Linked DNA regions of Homo sapiens: regions 2 and 3 are each linked to region 1. Evidence: promoter capture Hi-C in 16 types of primary human blood cells and fetal thymus (Javierre and others, 2016). All regions are on one chromosome and are shown on one strand. Each heading gives the region's core, a stretch centred on a gene start or on the middle of the fragment in contact. The rest is flanking DNA. Distances are from core to core; before and after follow the strand shown.

Region 1 (3,653 bases), core at 674-3,173:
CCATTTATGCAATGATATGTAGCTATGAGTTAATCACGGTATTTCATTCCATGAAATCCATTAAGCTGCTGGCATTTGCATGGCTCTAAGTTTATTTTAAGAGGCTCATTCAAACATGGCCAGGAATATATTGGCCTCTTGAGAGTTTGCATGGCAAGGAGTTATACAGCAGGAAAAAGAAAAAAAACCCAATAATTATATTGATGCAAGATTCATCAGTATTTTAGAATATTGTCGTTTCAACATGTTAAATTGTTTCTGAGCACTGCTGATTTCAGCACTGTCCCTGGTCCACGTGACGCAAATGCCACCCTTTCCATATATTCTTCAGCAAAAATATATGAAAAGCCCGTCACTCCCTAAGAGGACCCTGATCCCTCTGGAGAGGAAAACTAAACTCTTTAAGAAGAAAACCAAACCCAACCTGAACTAATCGTCCAAGGAGTCCTGTTTGGTCCCACGAAAGGCAGATTTCCATCCACACCAGTGAGGGGCAAGTGTCCGGGTTCCAACTCGAAGCCAGGCGGGCCTGTGCGGGGGTGAGTCCTTTGCCACCCGGCGCCCCCCAGGCTCTACAAGCGTCTAGAGGTCGGAGTCGCAGGGCAGCGAGCTGTCGCAGGGGTGGGTGCTGCACGAGGGAGCGTCCTGGGACTCCCACCCCTCCCCGTCGAGGACGTCCACCGAGTTGGTGTAGGCCTTGGGCCGCGGCCGCGGCATGGGGAAGCCGACCTTGGGCTTGGGCTTGGGCTTGCGGTGCTGGGCAGGCGGCGGTCGGTGCTGGCCGTCGCTGTAGTACTTGATGGCGGGCGCCAGGTCGGGCTCGGGCCACTCCACTTGGATGGTGCTGACGCTGCTGCGGCGAGGCCCGGCGGAGGGTCCCTTGCGGCGGCGGCGACAACGCTCGTCGCACCAGGGCGCGAAGCTGAGCGCCAGCGAGAAGCCGCCCAGCAGCAGGAGGCAGCTGCCCAGGTAGCCCAGGACCAGGCTGTAGCTGACCTGCACCGTGACCGGGCTGGCCGGGGCGGGCAGCACGTCGCGGTCCCCCAAGAAGTGGTTGTACCAGGACACCGGGATGAGGCCGAGGAGGCCAGCGACGAAGAGCACGACGCCCGAGAGCCCTGCCAGCACGAAGTTGGGCTCGTCCTGCCAGCAGCGCACGCCCAGCGACGCCAGCAGAAGCCCCAGGACCGTGGCGGCCAGCGAGGTGACCATGAGTGCCCGCGCCACCAGCACGGGCTGGGCCTCGAAGTAGCCCCACTGGTCCGTCTGGCCGCACTCGCGCTCGCGGCTGCTCTGCTCGCGACACATGTCCCACAGGCCCTGGTACAACTCCACGTCCACTGGCTGGTTCAGGAAGCCCTTCACCAGCCGCCAGCCGGGCGCCAGGGTGCCGGTCAGGTTGAGCAGGAGCCCGCAGGGCGCCAACACCATGCCCAGCGTCATCACCACCGGCGTCCGCATCCCGGCCCGCCGCGCCGACGGCGCCCCTGCAGCCTGCCTTCCTTCTCCGCTGTCGCCTTCTCCGCCGTCGTCTTCTCCCTGCCGTGCCCCAGGCTCCGGGGACCCGAAGTCAGCGCGGACGCCCCGGGCTCCGGGTCGGGCTCCTGAGCCCTGATCGCTCCAGGGACGCTCTTTGTCTCCTGCACGGGGACCGTCCCCACTTAGGCTAGTTCCCTCCTGGCGTCCCGGCCGCTCCGCCCTCCTACTGGCCCTAATCGAAACCAGCCCGCGGGCGGGTCTGACCGAAACCGCGGGTCCGGGCGCGGGCGCCCAGGGGCGGCTGCCGCGGCCAAACCTGGCCCGGGAGGGAGGGACCCGAGGTGAGCGCAGGAAGCGGCGGGGCCACCTCGCCCGCGGCAGGTGAGATGGGGATCCGAGCGGCGGGGACACCCCACCTTGCAGCCGGGCGGCTGGGCCACGCCTGGCCTGGACTGCTCACGGCCGGAGCAAAGGTCGCCCCGCCCCTGGGTCCTCGCGCCGCCCCGCCGGGCCAGGCGGGCGGTGGGCGGGGAGGGAAAGAGGCGGCGCTGGCGGGACGCGGTGGCTGCGCAGCTTCCCTGCTGCTCAGCGGATCTCGGTTCCTAGAATTTGTTTCCGGTCCCTGCCCGTCGACCCTGCGCTTATAGCTTAGCCCTTTACTCCCAGAGGGTTCCAGATCGCCCCCTGGTTTGCTCTGCAACTTGCAGCCACTCGCAGAGAAGTGGGCGGTGCCGAGCGCTCCCGGGGATTGGAGGTGCGCTGGGTGAGTGTGCAGAAGCCCACCCAGTCCAGGAGCGTGTCCCAGAACGTTGCACCGGATTATTTCCTTAATAAAGGCTCCACACTCTGGATTAAATTCGTCTCTAAAGAATCTGTGCCAGTGTACTTCTGGGCAGAAGGGTTACACAAGGATTTTACTTTCCTTTTTCAGCCTTGTGAGACTTTCAAGGGGACTAGAAAGAGGGACCAGTGTTCCCGGATGTCCTGCTTAGCGTTTTTTGCAGGTTTATTTAATTTTACAGTGTACTGTGGCCTTTCTCGTCTGTAGGTTATTTTACAACTCTATAAATTATAGAAAGCCTGTAGTATTGCAAATGACTTTTGCCAACATCAAGGCTAATGAGTTCGTCCCAGTGGAATGATTATTGTCCAATGGATACTGACCAGTATGGCATTGATTTGTAAATTCATTTTAGCATTCCTGTTTGTCTGTATATGTGTGTCCTTTTGTTCTTTGCTTTTTTTTTTTCCTTTTTCTTTTATTTATTTATTTATTTATTTATTTATTTATTTATTTTAAACAGGGTTGGGGAGTTTCGCTGTGTTGCCCAGGCTGGTTGCAAACTCCTGGGCTCAGGTGAGTCTCCCGCCTCAGCCTCTGGAGTAGCTAGGACTGCAGGCAAGTGGCCAGCTTCTTTGGTTTTAACATCATACTGGTTTCCTTATTCAATAATGAGTTAAATAACCTCTTTCACACATATTCATTTTATATTTGTGTGAAAGTCACGATGTTTACATTTTTTCTAAAAATTATCCTTTAATAACACTTTTTTGTATTTTCTAGATTTTTACAATGAAAACGTATTGCCTTTATAATTGTTTAAAATTAAAACTATTTTTAAAATTCAAGTTAATTTAGCATTGGTTTGAAATAATTTTGAATATTCCAGAGTGGACAACACTAGGAATGACAGTGACTGCTTTTTTTAAAAGAATATTTTTAAATTAAAAAAAAAACCTGTGGTAACATATATGTAACATACAGTTGACCGTTGTAACCATCTTTAAGTGTACAGCTCATTGGTATGACATACATTCACATTGTTGTGATACCCTCACCACCATCCACTCCTGGGATTTTTTCCTCTTCCCAAACTGACACTGTACCCACTAAACACTAACTCTCCTTTCCTCCCTCCCTCACAGGCCCTGGTGATCACCATTCTACTTTTTTCTCTCTATAAATTTAACTACTTTAGGTACCTCATAGAACTGGAATCGGACCGTATTTGTCCTTTCGTGACTGGCTTATTTCACTGAGCTTAATGTCCTCCAGGTTCATCCATATTGTAGCATGTGTCAGAATGTCCTTCCTTTTGAAGGTTGAATGATATTCTATTGTGCATAAATACCACATTTTGTTTATCCAGTCTTCCATCCATAGACACTTAGAT
Region 2 (3,653 bases), core at 734-3,233, 1.1 Mb before region 1:
AAAATATATTTATTAACACATATATAAACACATATATTAAAACATATATATATATATATATATATATAAAACAGCTGACAAAACCGAGAAGTTTCGGGAAGCAATCTTGTTCATATTTTACCCGCATCACCACCCTCTGAGGTCCGCGGCTGGAGCGCATTGACAGTAGTAAAAATATTGGTCACAAGGTGGCGCTGTTGCCTTAGCGTAAAGCCTTTCCCCTCCCTCAGTACCAGCTTTAGTTCCAATTCATGAGGCCAAAAGGTCCACAGATTGGTTTACATTAATAAATCTAAGAAGGGCGAAGAGGGGGTTGACAGAAAGATAAAACCACAGCCAGTCTCTTCACCTTTGGGTTAATTTGAGACTCAATTTGATTTTCTCAGAGGAGGAAGAGAGAGAGCTTCACAGAAACTCATTTCCTATTTTTGACAGGCGTGCCCGGCTGGAAAGTTAAGTGTGCTTTGTCGGGGCTGGATTCTTTCTCTGTCCGTCTCTATCCTATTGGATCATCAGTGAGACATGGCCATGGTCTTACTCCTGGTAGAAGGGAGAGGAGGGCTGAATGTGTATATAAAGTGGCTTGGAGAGAGTGCCGCTCGGAGGGCGGAGGCCAGAGGTGACTTAAAAAGCCCTTTTGAGTTTACAATGTTTTCAAATAAAACAAAGCAGGAAAGGTTATCAGATATTCTTGATCAAGATTCAGGCAAAACCTAAATAGGCAGCAGCAATTGGCTAGATCCGTAGACGAAGGTGTATCCGGATCCCATTAAATGAATGGCCCCAATTGGGCTGAATGGCCCGACCCACCACCCTGTGCACACCTGGCCTCTTTTGTATCTGCTCTGGGACATGCTTTATGTCACCCTCACAACAGCCCAGGGAAGAGGCTGTGAGCCCCATTGTTAAGGATGAGGAAAACAAATTAATGATCTTGTCTGAGGGTACATAGCTAGGAAGAGGCGGCTCTGGGATTTGAACTCCTCTTCTCTGAGAGGATGCGTCATCTGCCTTGCCCGTGCAGCCTCCCCTGCAGGCTTCAGCAGAGCGGGTGGGGCCGATGACTGCTGTACTGGAAGGGTGGCTCTTGCTGAGACCCTGTGAGGTGGCTTCACAATTGCATGGTTGTGGGTGGGGTTATTATTACTTACTGTGACTCTCAAGCAGTGTAACATAGTGGTTAAAAGCTCTGACTCTGGGCCAGGTGTGGTGACTCACTTCTGTAATCACAACACTTTGGGAGGCGGAGGCAGGAGGATCACTTGAGGCTAGGAGGTAAAAATCCACCAGGACAAGGTAGTGAGACCTCATCTGTACGAAAACTAGAAAACCTGGCCAGGCACGGTGGCTCACGCCTGTAATCCCTGCGCTTTGGGAGGCCCAGGTGGGTGGATCACCTGAGGTCATGACTTCAAGGCCAACCTGGCCAATATGGCAAAACCCCATCTCTATTAAAAAAAAAACAAAACAAAAATTAGCCAGGCATGGTGGCGGGTGCCTGTAATCCCAGCTACTCAGGAGGCTGAGGCAGGGAAAATTGCTTGAACCTGGGAGGTGGAGGTTGCAGTGAGCCGAGATGGTGCCACTGCACTCTAGCCGGGATGACAGAGCAAGACAGTCTCAAAAAAAAAAAAAACAAAAAAAACGTAGCCGGGCCATGGTGCTGCATGCCTGTAGTCCCAGCCATTCAGGAGGCTAAAGCAGGAGGGCCAGTTGAGCCTGGGAGGTGGAGGCTACAGTGAGCTGTGATTGCACCACTGCCGTCCAGCCTGGGCAAGACAGCGAGATCCTGCCACAAAAAGAGAGAAAAAAAAAAAAAAAGCTTGGACTCTGGCCCCAGGCTGCCTGATTTGAGTCTCAGCTCTGTCACTTACTAGCTGTATATAACCTGGGCAACTCGCTTACCCACTCTGTGCCTCAGTTTCCTCATCTGTACATCAGGAATAATAGCTCCCATCATAGGGTTGTTGTGAGAATTATGTGAATGATATACATGTAAAGCACTTTATATCATACTTGGCACATTATGAAAACTATTTTTGTTATTGTTTGCAAAAAAAAAAACCTGTATTGTTTGCTGTTATTGCGATTCGATGAATGACAGTCATCAAATTCTTAGCAAAAGTGAAGTCAGAGAAAGCTTTAAATCAGCCAAATATTTTTTTAATCTCTCTAGTTTTCTCTGCACAAACCAAGACTCCTCTACTCATCCTATGAACAGTCAGCCTAGGCTTTTTTTTTTTTCTTTCTTTCTTTTGTTGAGACAAGGTCTTGCTCTGTTGCCCAGGATAGAGTAGAGTGGAACAATCACGGGTCACTGCAGCCTCAACCCACCACCTCAACCCCAGGTCTCAAGCTGTCCTCCTACCTCAGCCACCCCAGTAGCTGGGACTATAGGCAAGCACCACCGCATGTAGTGCTTTTTTTTTTTCTTTTTCTTTTTCTTTTTTGTAGAGATGGGTTCTCACTAGGTTGCCCAGGCTGGTCTTGAACTCCTGGGCTCAGGTGATCTACCTGCCTCAGCCTCCCCAAGTGCTGGGATTACAGGCGTGAGCCACAGCTCCCGGGCCAGCATATGCTTTGATAAGGCTTTAGTGAAGATCATTCAACTAAACCACTGAGACAGCACATACCTTGAGCGCCTACTGTATGCCAGACCCTGGCTAGCTATGAGATTCATAGATGAAGCCCTGCTCCCTCCACCCTGCGGGCTCTCCCCATTCTGCAAGAGAGGCAGGCCAGTCACAAACAAGGAGAACAGTGAGTTAAGGGGACCCAGGCACTGTGAGGGCAAGAGGAGGTGCACCCCATTCTGCCCCAAACAACAGGGAGTGTCCCTAGAGCAGGTAACTGATCCAATACCCGTGAGGCAGGACCTGCAGCAGGAAGCGAACTCCAGAGACTTGCAGGACTTTTGGTCTTGGGCTGCAGCATGCAGGGGCTGGCAAACATGTTCTGAAAAGGACGAGCTCATCAGTATTTTAGGCTTTGCAGACCCCGCAGTCCCAAATGAATCAGCGTCGGCTAGGGGCGAATGACACTTTATTTACAAAAGCATGCGGAGGGCGGAACTCCGTCCGTGGGTCGGAGCTGATCCCTATTGCAGGGTTGGCCGACCCCTCCACAGATCAGTGGCATCCAGTCCTGGGGACGGCAGGAAGGCCGTGACGCCTGGAGGCAGGAGGCCTCGCTCATCACCCAGTGAAGGAACCGTGGCCTGAACCAGTGGTTCTCCGCTCAGGCTGTACCTGACAGTCACCCAGAGGGATCTGAAACTGCCTCATACCCCGGCCACCCCATCCAATTACATGTGAATTTCTGGACATGGGACTCTGGCATTGGTGCTTTTTACAGTACCCCAGGGGTTTCCAATTTCAGCCCACACTGAGAACCACTGGCAAAGTCTAAGGAAGTACAGGCAGGAATGTGGGAGGGAAACAAATTTAGACAGTACCATACTTGTGATGGCGCCGCTTAACAATTTATTATTATTATTGTTATTATTTTGAGACAGGGTCTTATTGTGTCACCTGAGCTGGAGTGCAGTGGCACAATCTTGTCTCACTGCAACCTCCGTTTCCCGGGTTCAAGTGATTCTCCTGCCTCCGTCTCGGGAGTAGCTAGGATTTCAGGCGCCCGCCACCACACCCAGC
Region 3 (3,653 bases), core at 431-2,930, 1.1 Mb before region 1:
TTAATATTTAGGTTGTTTAAATTTTTTATTGTGATAAGACAGTGATGACTATTCATATATTCATGTATATAGTGTGTGTTTGTGACTATCACTGATTATTCCAATACAAATTTCTAGAAGAAGTATAATTACTGAATAAAAGTTAAAAAAAAGCTTCTTTTCTAGAAGTTAAAGGTTTATGATTTAAACAGAAAAATATGACAAATTTATTCCTTCCTTTTTGTAAACTTTTTATTTGGAAACAGCTACCAACTTACAAGTAAGTTGCAAAAATTAAAATGGTACCAAAAACAGCTACATAACCTCACCCAGATCTACGTTTGGGAAGGTTTTATTTATCTCATTTGCTTTATCATTTGCCCCTTCCCTATCCCTGTATACTAGATACACCCACACCCACACATACGCACTACACACACACACACACACACACACACACAGACACACACACACACACACACAAACACACACACACACATTCTCCCCAAAACGTTTACAAGTTATATACATCATCATGGTCCTTTATCCCTAAATATGCCAGTATATATTTTCTAAGCATAGACATATTGCCTTACGTAAGTACAGAATCAACCTTATAATTTTACATTGATACAATCCTTTTATTTAATGTCCATATTCCAATTCTGTCAGTTGATCTAATAATGTACTTTCTCTTCCAATACTGGATGCAGTTGGGGGCAGAAGGTTAACTTCGTTTTCATGTCTCTTGGGCCTCATGTAATCTGGAAAGTTAGCACAGCCTTTCTTTTATAATATTAACATTTTTGAAGAATACAATCTTTCAACATTAAAAAAAGTAAAACATTCCTCATTTTGATTAGACTTACATCATGTATTTTTGGCTGGAATGCTGCAGAGATGTCGTGCCTTTAGAGTATCCACCTAGAGAGATAATATAAGCCTATCTGTCCCTCATTGGTGATGTTGATTTTGATTATCTGGTCAAGGCATTGTCCCCTTTCTCCAATATATAATTACTCCTCCCCCCAGCCCCCTTTGAAAGTAAGTCTGTAATAAGAAAACCACGCAAATATTCTTCTCCTTAGTGAAACAATCCCCATATTTAGCATCCATTAATAATTCTTGCCTGGTCTAATAATGGGTACATGATGAGTCCCATGTCATCCCTCCCTCCACCCGTCCTTCCCTGTTTCTCCCTCCCTCCTTCTCTCTCCCTCTCTCCCCCTCCATCCCTCCCTACCTCTGTCTCCTCTCACTCCCTCCCTTTCTCCCTCCCCCATCCCTCTGCCTATCCCTTCTTCCCTCCCACCTCTTTCTCCCTCTCACTCCCTCCCACTCCCTCCCTCTCCCCCTCCCTCCCTCTTCCTCCCTCTCTCCCCATCCCTTCCTTCTGCTCTCCCTCACTTTCTCCCTCCGTTCCGCTCTCTAGCTCTCTCTCCCTCCCTCCCCTCTCTCCCCGCTTCATTCCCCCTTCTCCCTTCCTCCCCCACTTCCCTTCTCCTCTCTCTCCTGCCTTCCTTTTTTTCTCTCTCCTTCCTCCAATCCTTCCTTTCTCACTCCCTGTTCCTTCCTCTCTCGCTTTCTCCCTTCCTCTCTCTCTCTCTCTCTCTCCCTCCCTTCCTGCCTCTCCCCTCCATTCATCCCTCTCTCTCTTTCCCTCCCTCTTTCCTTCCTCTCTTCCTCCCTTCTTTCTTTCCTCTCCCTTTCTCTCTTCCTTCCTCTCTCGCTTTCTCCCTTGCTTCCTCTCTCAGTCTTTCTCCCTCCCTTCCTCTCTCTCCCGTTCTTTCCTTCCCTTTATCTCTTTCCCCCTTCCTTCTTCTCTCCCTCCCTTCTTCTCTCTCTTTTCCTTTCCTCTGTCCCTCCCTTCCTTAGTATCTGTCTCCCTTTCTTTCCCTCCCTTTCTCTCTTTCCCTCCCTCCCTTCCTCTCTCTCTCCCTCCCTGCTTCCCTTCCTCTCTCTCCCTCCTTTCTTCTCTCTTCCTTCCTTCCTCTCTCCTCCCTCCCTTCCTCGCTCTCTCTTCCTCCCTCACTTCCTTCCTCCCTCCCTCCTTTCCTCGCTCTCTCCCTCCCTTCCTCTCTCTCTTCCTCCCTCACTTCCTTCCTTCCTCTCTTCTCTCCCTCCTTTCCTTCCTGTCTGTCTCTCTCTCTCTCCTTCCCTCCCTTCCTTGGTTTCTCTTTCTCTCATATACACACACATGCTTATATTACTACTTACCCATAAATTTACATGGGTGTACACACACGTTAGAAACCATGAGATCATAGTAATACTTCCAATTTCAGTCCACCCTTAGAGTCTTTCTTACCTTCTCCATTCCATATTTGTATGTCCCTTCTTCTACCATGAGAATTTTGGCTCCTCAAATCAATACATCAACACATCCGCTCATGTGCTCAATCCTATAATATGCTTAAGAGTTTCACTGTTTTGCCCACGGTATCTCCATCAACACATTTACTAAAAGGAGTTCAGGATTCCTTTGTCAGTCTTCCCCCAACAGCATTCCCTACCCTGCCCATGACTGAAGGCACAGTATAAAATACTGTTTTCATAGGTTATATATATTTAGTTATTTCCTTCTTTATTTTTCTCTTTTATTGTAGTTATGGTATTCATTTGAAGTTCACTTACATTCAGACAAATTGTTTTTGTTTTTGGACAAATCCTGTGGCATGTACATCCATGAAGACCCACTAACAGCAGCTGCCCTGGCATGCTGCCCACGAAGTGGCACAAGGCATTAGTTCAGAGCTGCAGGCCTCAAAACGGCATGAGGGCCCAAGCCTTTGTTTCTCAGCTGCCCTCTTGTTCACACTGTGTTATGTGGCTGACAGCTACTAATGGGTTTTAGGTAAAAAGTTGATGTCAAAGAATTATTTTGATACCTTTATTTTGTATCTGAAGTAATTAATACTAGCACACTGTGTGGTGGATATTTCACTGAAAAGTGTCTCAAGTCTTACACGGTCTCTGTGCTCTATTGACATGTTTGTGAACTTGGTTATGCTTGTTTGATGAGTAACATACCTGTTCTCCTCTGTAGATGACATATTCAGCATATGCCAGCCCATTGACGCTCGGTCTACCAATGACTGAGTGGTGCCCTGGAGGCGCGTGGGCCATTTTCATGGTGCTAAACTGCAGAAAGGATTTCCCAAGGGTCACTCTACAGAAGAGCATTTGTCTAAGGAAAAAGAAAAAAACAATGCTTTGAAGGAAGCTTTAAATCTTACAATAATATAACTGCTAGATCTATTAATTTTTTAAAAATTTAACATAAGGCAAGCTAATTTAAATGTCATTTTCAGATTTATGAGTAGGAATGGGATGGAATTTGATATAATGATTTGCTATAAACAGTTACCAGACTCAATAGTTACACTTAAAGTTTAAAGTAGTTTTGGTATGGCTTAGGAATCGGCCATAGAAAATGCCTGCTAGGGAGATCAAGACCATCCTGGCTAACACGGTAAAAACCTCGTCTCTACTAAAAATACAAAAAGTTAGCCGGGTGTGGTGGCGGGCGCCTGTAGTCTCAGCTACTTGGGAGGCTGAGGCAGGAGAATGGCACGAACACGGGAGGTGGAGCTTGCAGTGAGCCGAGATCGCGCCACTGCACTCCAGGCTGGGCGACAGAGCGAGACTCCGTCTCAAAAAAAAAAAAAAAAAAA

Evidence for each region. The method cuts DNA at HindIII sites, captures the fragments that hold promoters and counts their contacts. A CHiCAGO score of 5 or more calls a contact.
Region 2: a fragment that was not itself captured here is called in contact with the fragment with the promoter of CLDN23 in region 1 in 3 of 17 cell types (neutrophils, total CD8 T cells and fetal thymus); the score reaches 6.7 in neutrophils.
Region 3: a contact is called between a fragment that was not itself captured here and the fragment with the promoter of CLDN23 in region 1, in 1 of 17 cell types (total B cells). The highest score is 6.2, in total B cells.

What each region holds. Positions count from the first base shown.
Region 1 is chr8:8,700,207-8,703,859 of GRCh38, reverse strand. It overlaps CLDN23 (claudin 23), which reads right to left and starts at 1,923. Exons shown (of 1, transcript NM_194284.3): 1 at 1-1,923. The coding sequence starts at 1,461. The coding sequence ends at 583. RefSeq lists an enhancer at 1,130-2,097 and a silencer at 1,571-2,190. The HindIII fragment of the contact is 12,864 bases long and covers 1-3,653 here.
Region 2 is chr8:9,826,151-9,829,803 of GRCh38, reverse strand. No RefSeq gene overlaps it. Among named protein-coding and RNA genes, the nearest start is that of MIR124-1HG, 75 kb to the left of the region's middle. The HindIII fragment of the contact is 318 bases long and covers 1,825-2,142 here.
Region 3 is chr8:9,769,619-9,773,271 of GRCh38, reverse strand. It overlaps TNKS (tankyrase), which reads right to left. Exons shown (of 27, transcript NM_003747.3): 26 at 3,010-3,166. Among named protein-coding and RNA genes, the nearest start is that of MIR597, 30 kb to the right of the region's middle. The HindIII fragment of the contact is 3,049 bases long and covers 156-3,204 here.